3 separate regions of the Homo sapiens genome follow, and all the other regions are linked to region 1. The links are contacts of gene promoters, found by promoter capture Hi-C in human tissues and cell types (Jung and others, 2019). All regions are on one chromosome and are shown on one strand. The core of a region is centred on a gene start or on the middle of the fragment in contact, and the rest is flanking DNA. Distances in the headings are between cores, read along the strand shown. Region 1 holds the start of ADAMTS9 (ADAM metallopeptidase with thrombospondin type 1 motif 9). Region 2 has its middle 170 kb from the start of LINC02040. Region 3 overlaps MAGI1 (membrane associated guanylate kinase, WW and PDZ domain containing 1).

Region 1 (4,598 bases), core at 918-3,417:
AGATGTAAATGCAGAAGCCAGCTAATACACTGAAGAAAAGATGGGTAGACTCACTAAGGATGAGAAATTCATAAACCTAGGTTCTTGGTCACCTCAGGAGTTCACCAAGAGATATTTTGTATCTTTCTGGCCTATCAGCTCTTGTGGATCAATTTTTTAAAACTGTAGACAAAGTTCATTCTTCAAGCAAAGTCCTAGAAAGAAAGCAAAGGAGAGAGAGTACACAAAGGAGGCTTCTGTCCCTACATATCGTAATTTCTATACCATTAGTTAACTTCTCTTTGTCAGGAAGGATTTGAACTGAAAGAGAAAAAAAGATTTAATGGGAAATACTGGAAAGTGCTATATTTTTGAGTAATTTTACAATGGAAGTACTGGAATATTTTCCACAGGAATCAGCCAATAGATTGATTTCTTGATATTTTTCTGTTCCTTACTAAATTTTCAGCAACTCCCAGACACTGTGATTGTGGGGAATGTTGTTATAATAAAAAGAAAGATTGTGTATTAGAAGAAACGTATTTTAGTGAATTAATTTGGAGGTTCAAGGTTTAAATGCCATTCTCTAAAAATCTCTAATTGTGCACAATACAGATGTTATTTTTCCATCCTTACATTTTACATATCCATTATGAAATTCCAGTAATAAGACGATGGTAACATTATCAATTTGGGTTAACAATTATTTAGCAAATTCGTCTTGCCAAGTCATTTTTACCCTTCACCAGAAGAAATATATGTATTAGTATCTCAAGAATAGTTGACATTGCTAGCATATTGCGATTTGGTTCCTGGTGTTGGCAATCTTTGGTATTTCTAGTCCTGAGTGCTAACCTACCACGCAACAGAACCTCAACCCCCGTTCTAGGATACTTGGGCAAATATATATTTATTAGTCATATATTTATATATTTTTAACGATATTGTCATGTCTTTCCTCTTGAAATTATCTTGAAATTCTATCTTCCTGAGGGCTGGTTAAAGAAAAGGCGCCACTGAACCACCCAAGATTGAACAATTCACACACACACACACACACACACACACACACACACACACGAAGGTGTAGCTTGAAGCGCCTGCTTTCAGTCTTTCCCAGTCTTTCCAAGCATCTCTCAGGCTGAAAGCAAGCGGAAGTGATTGAGAAATCCCTCCAGGGACTGGTGCCTCCCACAGGGATCTACAACTTTACACTCCATCCCCCCTTCCCCTCCCATCTCTAAACCCCCTGGTAGTGAGGGGCGCCAGAGTCCCCGCCCCTTCTTGCTGCCAAAATTTGTTCTTAACCTTTTTTGGGGCAGGGGACCTACAGAATGCTATGGACCCTCCATGAATGGTGACAGAGGTTGGTGGAAAGCACAGCTTAAATATTTTGCGAAATTTTCAAGAGACCACGTATTAGAAACACACTCCGACCTGCAGGATTAAGAACCCCATTTCTAAAACTCTTGACTTGGGGTGATTAAATCGAGAGCGGAGCTCAGGTGCCAAATCTCTTCCCGAATGAAAAAGTGTAGGAAGGGAAGGCGCTCCGGCGCTGGGCCACTTTCACTTGTAAGAAACCAAAAGATGGGGACTGGTGGCAAGAGATGGGGACGGAAGAGAAAGGAAAGGAAAAGGAGAAATGTGAGAAACAGACAGGGACACGGTGGGGCGGGGAGAAGACAGACATCACAGGGGAAAATGGGGAGAAGGGACAGAGTCCGAGAGGCACAGCAGCAGAGAGACAAGGGGGAGGAGGAAAAAGAGACTCGGAAGGGAGGAGAGAGAGGAGAGGAGAGGAAAAAGACGAGAGGGGAAGTGGCTGCACGCGCGCCAGGAAAGGGAGAGAACTTTCCCTGCTTTCCCTCCCCGGGGCAGGGAATCTCAGAAAACCCCACTTCAGCGAGGTGGCGGGGACCAGGAACAGCTGCCCCGGCGCTGGTGACGCCTCTGGCCTCCGCCTCTTGCAGCCGGCAGGGCCTCCGGCTGCGAGTCCCGCACGGGCCGGCCGAGGAGGGGACATGGTCTGGAAGGAGGCGGTCCCCGTTCGTCTCGCTTTCTCCTCCCCTCTCCTCCTCTTAGAGGCGTGCACCGGGGGCATTTGAGAGGCTGTGGACCCGCGGCCCCCCCGCCTCCGCCCCCCCAGCCCCCCATTCAAGAAGCCGCTCAGCTATCCCGGCCAGCACAGGGCGCCCGGCGCGCCTCGGAGCGCAAGTTCCTCGCCTTCTCCTGCCCGCTCGCTGGGCATTATGCGGCCAAGCAGCCGAGCCCCAGTCCTCCTCCTCCTCCTGCTCCTCCGGCTCCTCCTGCGGCCCGAGCGGCTCAGCTCTCGGCAGGCGGCGGCGTTGCTCAGCCGAGCGCAGACGGGACCCTCGCAGCGAGACCTCAGCGACTCCTAAAGTCAAAAGTTGGCGGCGGGCGCCGGGCTCCGCGCGCTCTCCACGGCCGCTGCCTCGCGTCGCCGCCGCAGCCAAGGAGGGCAGGAGGGAGGGGGGTGGGGGCAGCGGAGGGAGGGGTGGGAAGCACCATGCAGTTTGTATCCTGGGCCACACTGCTAACGCTCCTGGTGCGGGACCTGGCCGAGATGGGGAGCCCAGACGCCGCGGCGGCCGTGCGCAAGGACAGGCTGCACCCGAGGCAAGGTAACCAGGCTCCGGCCCCCGGGACCCCGCCGGCCCCGACGCCGCCTCCCGGTCCTCGCTCCTGGGCAGGGGCACCCCGCAGCGGAGGCTTCTCTCCTTTTCCTAGAAAGAATTATCTCCCGCTTTGCAGCCTCTCCCTTCTTTGGGTCATCCCCAACCAATTGCTAGGGAGGGACACTATGGAAACGAATTTAGGCAACCCCCCCCTACCTTGCTGTTGCCAGATATATCCCCATCCCCACTCCCACGCCGCAAACTAAAGTAACTTAGTAATTGGGGGCACCAGATAGCGTCATGTTTTATTTTATTCAGGTTATTTATCAATATCTGAAATCATATATATTTTGACTTGTTAATTGTCTGGCTCGGAATAGTGTATCCTCAGCACCTAGCACAGGTCCTGTTACTGGCACATAGTAGGTGCTCAGCAAATATTTGTCCACTGATTAAGGGTGAAGGGATTGACTCGAATGGGCTGGAAAATAAGGTCAGAACAAAGTCCCCACCTTCGTTTTAAATTAAAGCTTAAGGAAAAATGAATTATTGGTTCATATACCTCTGCTTCTCTCCGCAGTGAAATTATTAGAGACCCTGAGCGAATACGAAATCGTGTCTCCCATCCGAGTGAACGCTCTCGGAGAACCCTTTCCCACGAACGTCCACTTCAAAAGAACGCGACGGAGCATTAACTCTGCCACTGACCCCTGGCCTGCCTTCGCCTCCTCCTCTTCCTCCTCTACCTCCTCCCAGGCGCATTACCGCCTCTCTGCCTTCGGCCAGCAGTTTCTATTTAATCTCACCGCCAATGCCGGATTTATCGCTCCACTGTTCACTGTCACCCTCCTCGGGACGCCCGGGGTGAATCAGACCAAGTTTTATTCCGAAGAGGAAGCGGAACTCAAGCACTGTTTCTACAAAGGCTATGTCAATACCAACTCCGAGCACACGGCCGTCATCAGCCTCTGCTCAGGAATGGTAAGTGGGCGCGCGCCACCTCCTCTCCCCTTCCGCCTCCTCGCCCGCTTCTAGAAGACTTAATTGTCCTCTAAGCCTAGAGACCCTCACTGTGGCGAGGCTCCGCTCCTCTCCGGCGTTAAATATCAGCTAGAAACTCGTATGGTTTGGGTAGCTAGCTCTGTGCGTGCGAGTACACTGGCGTGGAGCGCACACACCCGCCCCCAGGGGCTTCTGGATGTTTCAGAGCTTTCTGGAGTTTGGACTCGGTTCAGCGGCGCGTTGCCCAACGCTGCGAGGCGGCCTGGAAGTCAGTTTCCAAACTCGGAGAAAGTTACTGGAGTTGCGGTTCCCTGCAGCAAACTTGGCCACCCGGGAGCGGAGCCGCTGAGCGCAGGGCGGACCAGACTCCTTATTGGTGCGCCTTGCATCGGGGATGTGGGGCTGAGGATCCCCTGCCCAAGGCACTGGGAGTTCCTTCAGTGTGTGTTGTGGAGGGCGGTGCGTAATCTAGAGTCCCCGCTTTCTCTCAGGGCCTTTATTCACGCGCCAGGAACCCTGAGGCTGAACTGGATTGACAGGGAGCAGGTCCCGTCCCAGGAACGGAAGGGTGGGCCGAGGGCTCTGGGGGCGGGGGAGAAGGCGGAGCCTACCCCGGACGCTTTGAATTGGGGTGGAACCGAGAGTGGGGGTGCAGCGCAGTCCAACTCTGCACCCTACTGGCGGGGTGGCCGGGAGAAACGGGATAGTGGGAGACAGCCTGGAGAGGCTGTCCGGACGTGATTTCGGTTCCTCTGGGGTTTCTACTACTCACGGGTTCCAGGGAGTGGAGAGAGGGAGCCTGCGGCGCACGTTTCCCTAGGGACTGAGGCAGGGCGGGGAGGCCGCCTTCTTGCGCTGCCAAATAGCATTTAGCAGGGAATCCACGTTGGTTCCCCGACTCTCTGTCGACCCCCGCATGTGCCCTCCAGTGGATCTTACAAGGCATCTGCCCCCCACTTCTCCACGACATTTGAGGAG
Region 2 (4,547 bases), core at 1,151-3,650, 660 kb before region 1:
TTAAAATTTAGGGGAAAAATACTCTTGGGAAAATGCTACTGACAAAAAGTGTCATTTACGTAGAAGCTCTAGTATTTATGTAAGCAACTCTAACACTGGTCCAGTCCAGTGACCCAGAAGGTACCATTGATATGACCAGCCCTAATTTGGGACCAAAGGAGAAATCAAGAGTACATTTGAGATAGTCACGAAATCTAGAACTAGACAGTATCTCTTTTATTGGCTGCAGAATGTGTCAAGACTAGTGAAAATGTCATCTATCTCTCCAACCCATCTATTTGACAGTCCTCCCTATAGCCACCCCCTCTAGGAGGAATTTTATGATTTAGATTTTCCACTTATCCCTGGGAAATTATACCTTAGCTGACCTTAACTCACTCCATTGTCTTCTAAAAATATAAATCAGGCCAAAGCAGTTTGTTAACAAATATGTACTGAGTATTATTTTCCAGGCTTGATGCTGGGCACTCAGCGTCAAACAAAAGCAATAAAACTTCAGCCTTCCTGAAGTTCAGAATCTGCCAGGAAAGACAGACATTGGATAATTGAGTTAAATTGTGGTAACAGCTATGGAGTGTATGTGGTGCCCTTGAGTGTCTGTAATTGGAGGACTTAATCTTGATAGAAGAAAAAAGGGAGGCAAGAAGGAAGAGCTCTTTCCAAGGAGGAAGCAAGACCTGAGCAAAGGCCTCATGGCCAAGGGTGTGTGTTTTATTCCAGGCATGGAGGGAAGGCCCATGAGACTAAAGATCTACCATAGCCATGGGGAGAAATAGAAGCAAGAAGTGAAATATGTCTGTGAGCCTTAGGGAGAAAAACTCACTGCCTATTCCCATAGAGGAAGAAAGGAGAGACAAAAAAAAAGCTATTTAGAGGGGACCAAATGACCCTCCCCATTGCTAAAATAAAAAGCAGTGAGAACAACCCACATTCAACATGTGGATCATCCTAAAACCTCTTAGAATTACCACAAACTATGTGAAAGGAAAATGATGTGCTCCTCTCCTTTTTAGAAAGAAGCAAAGATTTTATTTATTCTTCCTACCAGGGCCAACAATTGGGTTCCAGAGAACACATTTGGGCTGGGAGTACCTTTGTTTCCAGTTGCTTTCTTTTAACTGGTCTTATTGGAAACTTGTAACACGGGAACCATTTCCTGTAGCTAGATGTGCAAAATTGTTGTGCACTGTCACGGGCCCTGTGAAATCACCCCAGGAGTCTGGCTGATGATGTTTTCTCCCCTCAACTTATTTCAGTTTTATTTTTGAAATCTATTTCATGGGGGTTATTTTTGTTACTTTGGTGTATTTTGTCTGGATTGGTTTTTGTTTCACTCTTTATTTTTATTAAAAATGTATTCCCTCTCCCTTCCTGGATTCCATTAAAATGGATGAGAAATTCCACAGGCGCATGCCTGGATAATTAAAATGTCTCAATCCTTGTTCCTATTAATGAGCTTTATTTTGGATTTTGAGGAAACTGTTCTTTCTTCGTGCCCCTCCCCCACTATGTCATTGATGGTTACACTGAAACAGTGGGAAATGGTCTGGTCCATTTATAGAATTTAAACCAGAAAGAATGCCATATTCTCTATGATTTTATGCTACTTTCAGGAGGGGCCTGATGTGGGTGTCACCAAGAACATGATTCAGGCTTTGAGAAGACTAAGAAGAGCAGTTGAGACCAAAAAAACAAAAAAACCCAAAACAGAAAAACCCTTAATATTTTGTTTTACGATGCAAGTAATGCATACTACGTTAGTTTGGTTTTTTAAAAAAGTCCAAATAGTGTAAGATAAAAACTCTTAACCACTCCCTTCCTCAATTCCAGTCTCTTCCCAGAGCTAACCACTGTTGCCATATTGGAACGCTCCTTCCAGACATGTCAGGATATCTGCTAATGCACAAAAGCATATGTGTGTGTGTGTGTGTGTGTATGTTTTTTGTCTGTGGGGTTCTAAAATTACAAGTGCATAATAATGTACCTATTGTTCAGTGGTGTTATTTTCTCCCACTTAATTCATCTTTTGAATCTATGCCTTTTTTTTTTAACTGCTAAATTGTACAGTCATCCCTTGGTCTCCATGGGGGACTGGTTCCAGGACCCTCTGCAGATACTAAAATCTAAAGATGCTCAAGTCCCTGATACAAAATGGTGTAGTATTTGCATATAACCTACATCCTCCCATATACCTTAAATCATCTCTAAATTACTTATAATACCTAATACAATATAAGTGCTATGTAAATAGTTATACTGTATTATTTAGGGAATAATGGCAAGAAAAAGGTCTGCACATGTTCAGTAGACAATTTTTTTTCTCAAATATTTTTGATCCACGATTGGTCGAATCTGCAGATATGGAGGGTCACCTGTGTTCTATAGCATATTAGTCAGCTAGGGCTTCCATACCAGAATACCACAAACTGTGTGGCTTCAACAACAGAAATGGATTTTCTCAGAGTTCTGGAGGCTGCAGGTCCAAGATCAAGGTGTTGGCAGGGTTGGTTTCTGGTGAGGGCCCACTTGCTGAATTGCAGGTGGGCACCTTCTCACTATGTCCTTAGGTGGCCTTTTCCCTTTGTGCGTACCCCTGGGGTCTCTTCCTCTTCTTATAAAGACACCAGTCTTATCACATTGTGGCCCCACCCGTATGACCTCACTTAACCTTAACTGCCTCCTTTAAAGGCCCTATCTCCAAATACAGTCACATTGGGGATTAGAGTTGCAACATATGAATTTTGGGGGTAATTTAGTACATAGCAGATGTATGTATCTCCTATACTTTAATACTTTGTACTTTGTCTGCCATGGGATAAATTCCTTTACATTTTTTCTTAAAAAGCTTAATATAGTATGATTTTGCCTCCTTGGTCTAAAAGTGATTAAGATTTCCTTTACCTCTGAGGGTAGGGGGAGGCAAGAGAGGAAATGGAGATGGGAAGGGATGCGGGGGGAAGGGATTGATTATTTTTAAGGCTGATATCCAATTACTCATTCTCAATAGCCCGCAGGGTTTTCAGCTGCTTCTCTGCCTGCTAAGCTACAAAGTGGGAGAATTTGGCATTTGAGGATGCAAAGTTGGAGGAGGCAGGCAAGGCCAGAAATGTCCTGTGTGGGATGCAAGCCTTCCTTGAAAATTAGCATTGCCAGTGGGAAGCCTGGGAGGATTTAAAAAGTTCTGGGCCCCAGGCAGACACCTCCAGCTCTCTTTCCAGTCGCTATGCAGACTGAGTTGTCTGGGTGAGTAGCACCCAGTTACCAAAATTCAGCATTTACCATTTTGTGCATCTTTAAGGACCCTCTGTGCTGGCTCACCCACGTCCCCTCATGTCATGGGAAAATCTGAAATTCTTTGTTCATTTGGATCAGAGTAATGGCTCAGGGAAGACAAAAACATTTTTTTTTTAAATCTACAGGGGCTCTCTGGATATGTGCAATACTGGAGAGAAATACTCTGACCTCTTGTCTAAGGTAGTAGTTCTCAGGGGCAATTTTGCCTCCAGGGTACAGTTAGCAATATCTGCGGACATTTTCATTGTCACAACTTGGGGAAGAGGTTGGTGGGCTACTGGCATACAGTAGGTAGAGGCCAGGGATGTTGTTAAACACCCTACAATGCACAGGAAAGCCTCCCATAATGAGGAATGATCCAGCTCTGTATCAGTCTGTTCTCATGCTGCTATGAAGAAATACCTGAGACTGGGTAATTTATAAAGAAAAGTGGTTTAGTTGACTCACAGTTCCACATGGCTGGGGAGGCCTCAGGAAACTTATGATCACGTTGGAAGGCACCTCCTCACGGGGTGGCAGGAGAGAAAGAATGAGAGCCGAGCAGAGGAGGAAGCCCCTTATGAAATCATCAGATCTCACTAGAAAAGCATGGGAAAAACCATCCCCATGATTCAGTTATCTCCACGAGGTCCCACACTTGACACATGGGTATTATTACAATTCAAGGTGAGATCTGCCTGGGCTCACAGAGCCAAACCATATGAAGCCCCAGGTGTCAACAGTGCCCAGGTTGAGAAACTCTGCTCTAAGCCAAATGATAAAGATTTGCTGGGGCCTTGCAATTGGGAGAATAATTTCAAAGAACGTTGACATCTTAATTTTGCAGAACATGTAATTTTAGGTAAGTCTGCATCCCTCCGAAATTGCTGATTTGAATGCTTCTTTGAAACAGCGGGTATCTCAGTAAACGATTTCCTTTTCTATGTTTCCAATGGCTGCTGAGGCAGTCTTCAATTGCTTAGTCATAACATACAGGATTCTTGGAGAGCAGTTTGTGAAATCCAAAGCCATTCTATGTTTGGTTACATTTTCAGTTGGGTTACTTCTATCAAGTGGCCTTATTTAAATTTCAGCCACTAACTAAAGCTTCACCTTGAATGTAATAATAATGCACACCTCACAAGGTGTTATGACGATTAATTAGTTAACTTTTGTAAGGTGCTTTGAAGACAGGAAGTCCACTCTGAGTTCTATTATAATTCGGCAAATTAGGCAATTTTTAACCCGAGTAGTGGCTTTGATCCTGCCTGCCG
Region 3 (4,458 bases), core at 1,513-4,012, 740 kb before region 1:
TGTTCACCCTGGCTCTGTGGTTTCCAGTCCAATGTTCTGCCCTACTTAACTGAATAACACTGATTTTTGTATAGTTGCTTAATACTGAGGCTGACAGCCTGGAAACTTTCAAATAATTCTTGGTACATCAGGTGCACCTCTGATTCAGCCACTGCTCATTTGACAGACACAAACCACCTTGTTCTCCTAACTCATCTATCCTCTTTCTCATTTCTGTTATTGATGTGGTTTATTATCCCATTAGATTCACTTCTAAGGAGACCAAACATAAAGTTTCATTATAGCCAACTAACTTACACATGTATTAGAACCATATTGTAATGAATTCGCCTAAGCCAGCAAACAACTGATTATAGAAACGTACTCCTTGATTTTATTTTTTATTTTTATTTTTGAGACAGGGTCTCACTTTGTCACCCAGGCTGGAGTGCAGTGGTGCCATCTCAGCTCACTGCAGCCTCAACCTCCTAGTTTCAAGCGATCTTCCTGCCTTAGCCCCCCAAGTAGCTGAGACTATAGGTGCATGCCACCACTCCCGGCTGATTTTTGTATTTTCAGTAGAAATGATTTCTCCATGTTACCCATGCTGGTCTCGAACTCCCGCGCTCAAGGGATCCACCTGCCTCGGCCTCCCGAAGTGCTAGGATTACAGGCATGAGCCACCACACCTGACTATACTCCTTGATTTTAAATATGTTTGCATTCTCTCTTCTTAATTCCCAATGCCATCTTCTCATTAATGGTGTTACATTTTATAACATTTATATGAAAAATCCGGAATATATTGCCATATTCATCAACATCTACATGGTTTATTTCAGAACATGAGTAATTTAAAATCACTGTGACATCAGCAGTCTTTAAAATACACCATATGTCTTGTGTATGATTTATGTATAGGATAGAAAGTTTGTACATCTGCAGTTGGCAGGCTAGCACTAGATACTATTAATCTTTCTGGAAGGCATATAAATATATCTGTTTCTGCCATACATTAGTTGCTTGAATCAGGGCTGACATTTAATCATCTCTTCTGTATAGTGGGGATGTAATGAGAAGGCTTGATGAAGGTGCTTCAAGACAACAGCTAGGTTCAATGAGAAAGTAAATGCCCACTTTACCGATTCTTTCTAATGAATCTAGTTTATTTTGTAACTGCTAGTAAGATGACTGATAAACTCATCTACACTGTTCCATGAGTCTCAGGAATTCCTGTCGTGAGGTTGTGGCTTTCTATGCTTTAAAGAACGGGCCATTTTTACTTTGGGACAGAACTGGCTGCTATGTTTGTAGCACCCATTTTAATTCCTCATCTCTAGAGCTCGTTTTTGACATTTGTTCTTGTCAAGATCTAATACATTTCATTTTTAGTAGTTTTAGTCCATCCCCCTTCCCTCATCTGGAAATCGAGCTGAAGGTTGAAATATCATTTGTAAATGTCCAGGGTCAGACAGTTTCCTGAGTCAGGCTTAGAGCTGCTGTGCAGTGTTCATCCATACTCCCAAGTAGCCGGGACCAGTCCTGATTTGCTTACAAATCTCCTCTTCATCAACATCTCCCTGCTTGCCAGTCGATCACTCAGGTTTTTAAAGGGCAGTTCTTCTCTGTGTCTGGCTCCCCTCTTCCAATTGTGTGTCCTTACTCCTTCTCCCTCTGCTGTCCAGTCAGGAAAGTGCTTTTTACCCTTCTATTTTGAACATAGCATCTGCATTCAGAAATCCTGTCACCTGACATCAGTGTGCATCTAGAGACTTCTTTGAAGTGTTTGGAAAATCAAACTAGTTTGTGGATTTTTATTTTTAATTTGTAAAAGCTATCGAACTTGTCCCATAAGGATTTTTTACTTTTTTTAAAAAAGGCTCATGTAGATAGCGTAACTACCTGTGCCCCTCTGTGTCAAATATTTTGGATATTCGGCAAATTCACACCTATCAGTAGGTGTGACACTCTTTAAAATGTAATTTCATGTTGAGTCACAACACTCCGTTTCAAGAAAAGATTTGGCAGCACTGTATGCAAGTGAAGATCCTATGTTTTACTTTTGAGAGAAGGCATGTATTAAAAAGAAAACTGAACTTGGGATACCAGGAGCTGACCTTGAGTACAAACTCTGCCCGTAAGCTTCTGCATATGCTTCAGAAGGGTACTACTTCTACCCTGACACTTATTTTTTTAATCTAAAAGATGAATGTTTTGAGCTAGAGAATCTTTCAGGCACTCCATTCTGGCTCAAATTTTATGCAAGGGATGACCTTATTGTTGTATAGAGGAAAGACCACAGGACTGTGGAGACAGAGGATGCAAGTTTAAATCCTGGCTTCTGCTCTACTTGCATTGTGACTTTAGGCAAGTCACTTGCCTTCTCTGAGCTTAGTTAGACTTCTGAAAAAAATGGGCATGATGTACATAGATTAAATAAGGTAGCATTTGTGCCAATTCCTGACGTAGTAGTCATCACATGATAAAGCAATAGTGGCAATTGGGTGGGGAAGCATTAATATTTTATTTTTTATAAAAAGTTCTAGCTGGGCCGTACAGATTGTATGATGTTTAGGCATGTGTGTTTTTTTTTGTTTTTTTTTTTTTTTTTTTTTTTTAGAAGTTCTACTGGTAGGTTTTTTTTTTCTTCTTCTCTTGATACAGGGTCCTGCTCTTTTGCCCAGGCTGGAGTGCATGATCATGGCCCATCACAACCTCAAACTCCTGGGCTTAAATGAACCTCCTGCCTTAGCCTCCTGAATAGCTAGGACTACAGGCATGTGCCATCTTGTGAGGCTAATCTCTTTTAAAAAATTGTTTTGTAGAGACAGGGTCTCACTGTGTTGCCCAGGTACCACTGGTGATTCTGATATACAACCAGAGTTGCAAAAAATGTTAGGCTTCTGCCTCTACGGTCCCTTCTAGTTTTGATTCTTTGACCTATAAGTTGGATGAAAATAAGTTTATAAAGCTTATTTTAATATTTTCGTTTCTGAGTAATGTTCAACTTTTAAAGTCTGTTTTGTAAGTGACAGACTTTTCAGTCTTCCCTAAGGTCCATTTCAGCTCCCACATTCTACATTTTTCTACTTCCAAGGAGAATAGAAAGGGGACTTGCTATTGGAGATGCTCATTTAGAGTGCCATCTCCCACTGGCTTTTGCTGATCACAACAGTAATGGAAGTGAAATTGTCCTTTCTAGTTTGCACAGACCATATACTGAATACTTTGGTCAGGCCGCTAAATAATTTCAGGGTCTGATTATACATTCATGAAATGTTAAAATTCCTAGAGAGCAGTAATGTGTTTGACTCTTACTCTTGTGTCTCTGGCACTTCCTGGGGAACCTGGCAAGTGATAAGGTCTCAGTAAGTCATAGCTGAATAAATTAAACTTGATCCACCAGTCACAATGGAAGATTAATCCTCTAGCTTTATAAGCACACTTTGTAACTCTAGAAAAATGATAATGAGAGTTAAAAGGCAAAACTTAGATAAGAAAATGGTGGTGGTGATGGTAATGATAATGTCACTACTGTCATTTCCTGAGTACTTACTATGTTCAAGCTGTGTTACCATGATACATGCAATACACATACATACATTCATGCACACACACATGCCCAAGAAGGTAAATAAAACCTTTCAAGACTTCATTGTTGCAACCACATTGAAACTGCCACCAATTTGCAATGTGATGATGGGTTGGATCCTTGTGAAATGAAGGCAGTGATTGTTAGCTTCTATGCTAGGACAAAATACAAGAAGGAGTTGTTTTTGTTTTCCCACAGCTTAATTTGGTATAAATTAGTATAAAGCAAAGGAGAAAATTCTGTTTTAGTTGGGAAAACCTGCATAAGATTTGGAATGAAAACAATAAATGCTTCTACAGTGTGCCAGGCATGCTTCTAGACATTTTACATATCATAATTCATAAGAGTCCTCTGAAGTAAATACAGTCTTAGCTCCATTTTGGAGAAGAGGAAGCTGAGGCCCAGGGAGTTTCTGTGGTTTACCCAAATTAGCTGGTTAGTGGCAAAGCTAGGATTGGAACCTAGGAAGACTGGCTCCAGACAGTGCTTAAACACTCTGCCCAAAAGCCTCCTGCCTTACAGGCAAGAAATTGCTCCAGTACCATAATTATTGAAGACTATATCTTATGCATAAAGAAATGAGTAAAGCCTGAAGTCTGTGGGCAAAGTAATGCCTCTTAATTCTCATCAAAATTTACTGATGATATTTAGTTCATTAAATCGTCATTGATCCAAACAGAGAAAGCAGTATCTAATCTCGTTAGCTAAGTGCATCATTAGCATTAGCTCTTCTCTGTGTGTGTGTGTGTGCGCGTGTGTGCACGCACGTGTGTTTTTCTGAAATGATACAAAACCATCATAATTAGAACCACGGTAAGCCATGCACAGAGAGTTAAACCCAAGTGATCAGGCACTTCTCCTCTTTGCCCTCTGGTCTTGGACCAGAG

What was found. The method cuts DNA at HindIII sites, captures the fragments that hold promoters and counts their contacts. A contact is called where the count stands out against the background at its distance.
Region 2: a fragment that was not itself captured here is called in contact with the fragment with the promoter of ADAMTS9 in region 1 in 1 of the 25 tissues and cell types used here (H1 embryonic stem cells).
Region 3: a contact is called between a fragment that was not itself captured here and the fragment with the promoter of ADAMTS9 in region 1, in 1 of the 25 tissues and cell types used here (heart left ventricle).

Annotation. Positions count from the first base shown.
Region 1 is chr3:64,685,569-64,690,166 of GRCh38, reverse strand. ADAMTS9 (ADAM metallopeptidase with thrombospondin type 1 motif 9) reads left to right here and starts at 2,167. Exons shown (of 40, transcript NM_182920.2): 1 at 2,167-2,624; 2 at 3,199-3,599. The coding sequence starts at 2,510. All of the region lies in intron 1 of ADAMTS9-AS2 (ADAMTS9 antisense RNA 2), which reads right to left. The HindIII fragment of the contact is 6,670 bases long and covers 1-4,598 here.
Region 2 is chr3:65,343,209-65,347,755 of GRCh38, reverse strand. No RefSeq gene overlaps it. Among named protein-coding and RNA genes, the nearest start is that of LINC02040, 170 kb to the right of the region's middle. The HindIII fragment of the contact is 6,006 bases long and covers 1-4,547 here.
Region 3 is chr3:65,423,248-65,427,705 of GRCh38, reverse strand. All of the region lies in intron 12 of MAGI1 (membrane associated guanylate kinase, WW and PDZ domain containing 1), which reads left to right. Among named protein-coding and RNA genes, the nearest start is that of LINC02040, 250 kb to the right of the region's middle. The HindIII fragment of the contact is 4,148 bases long and covers 689-4,458 here.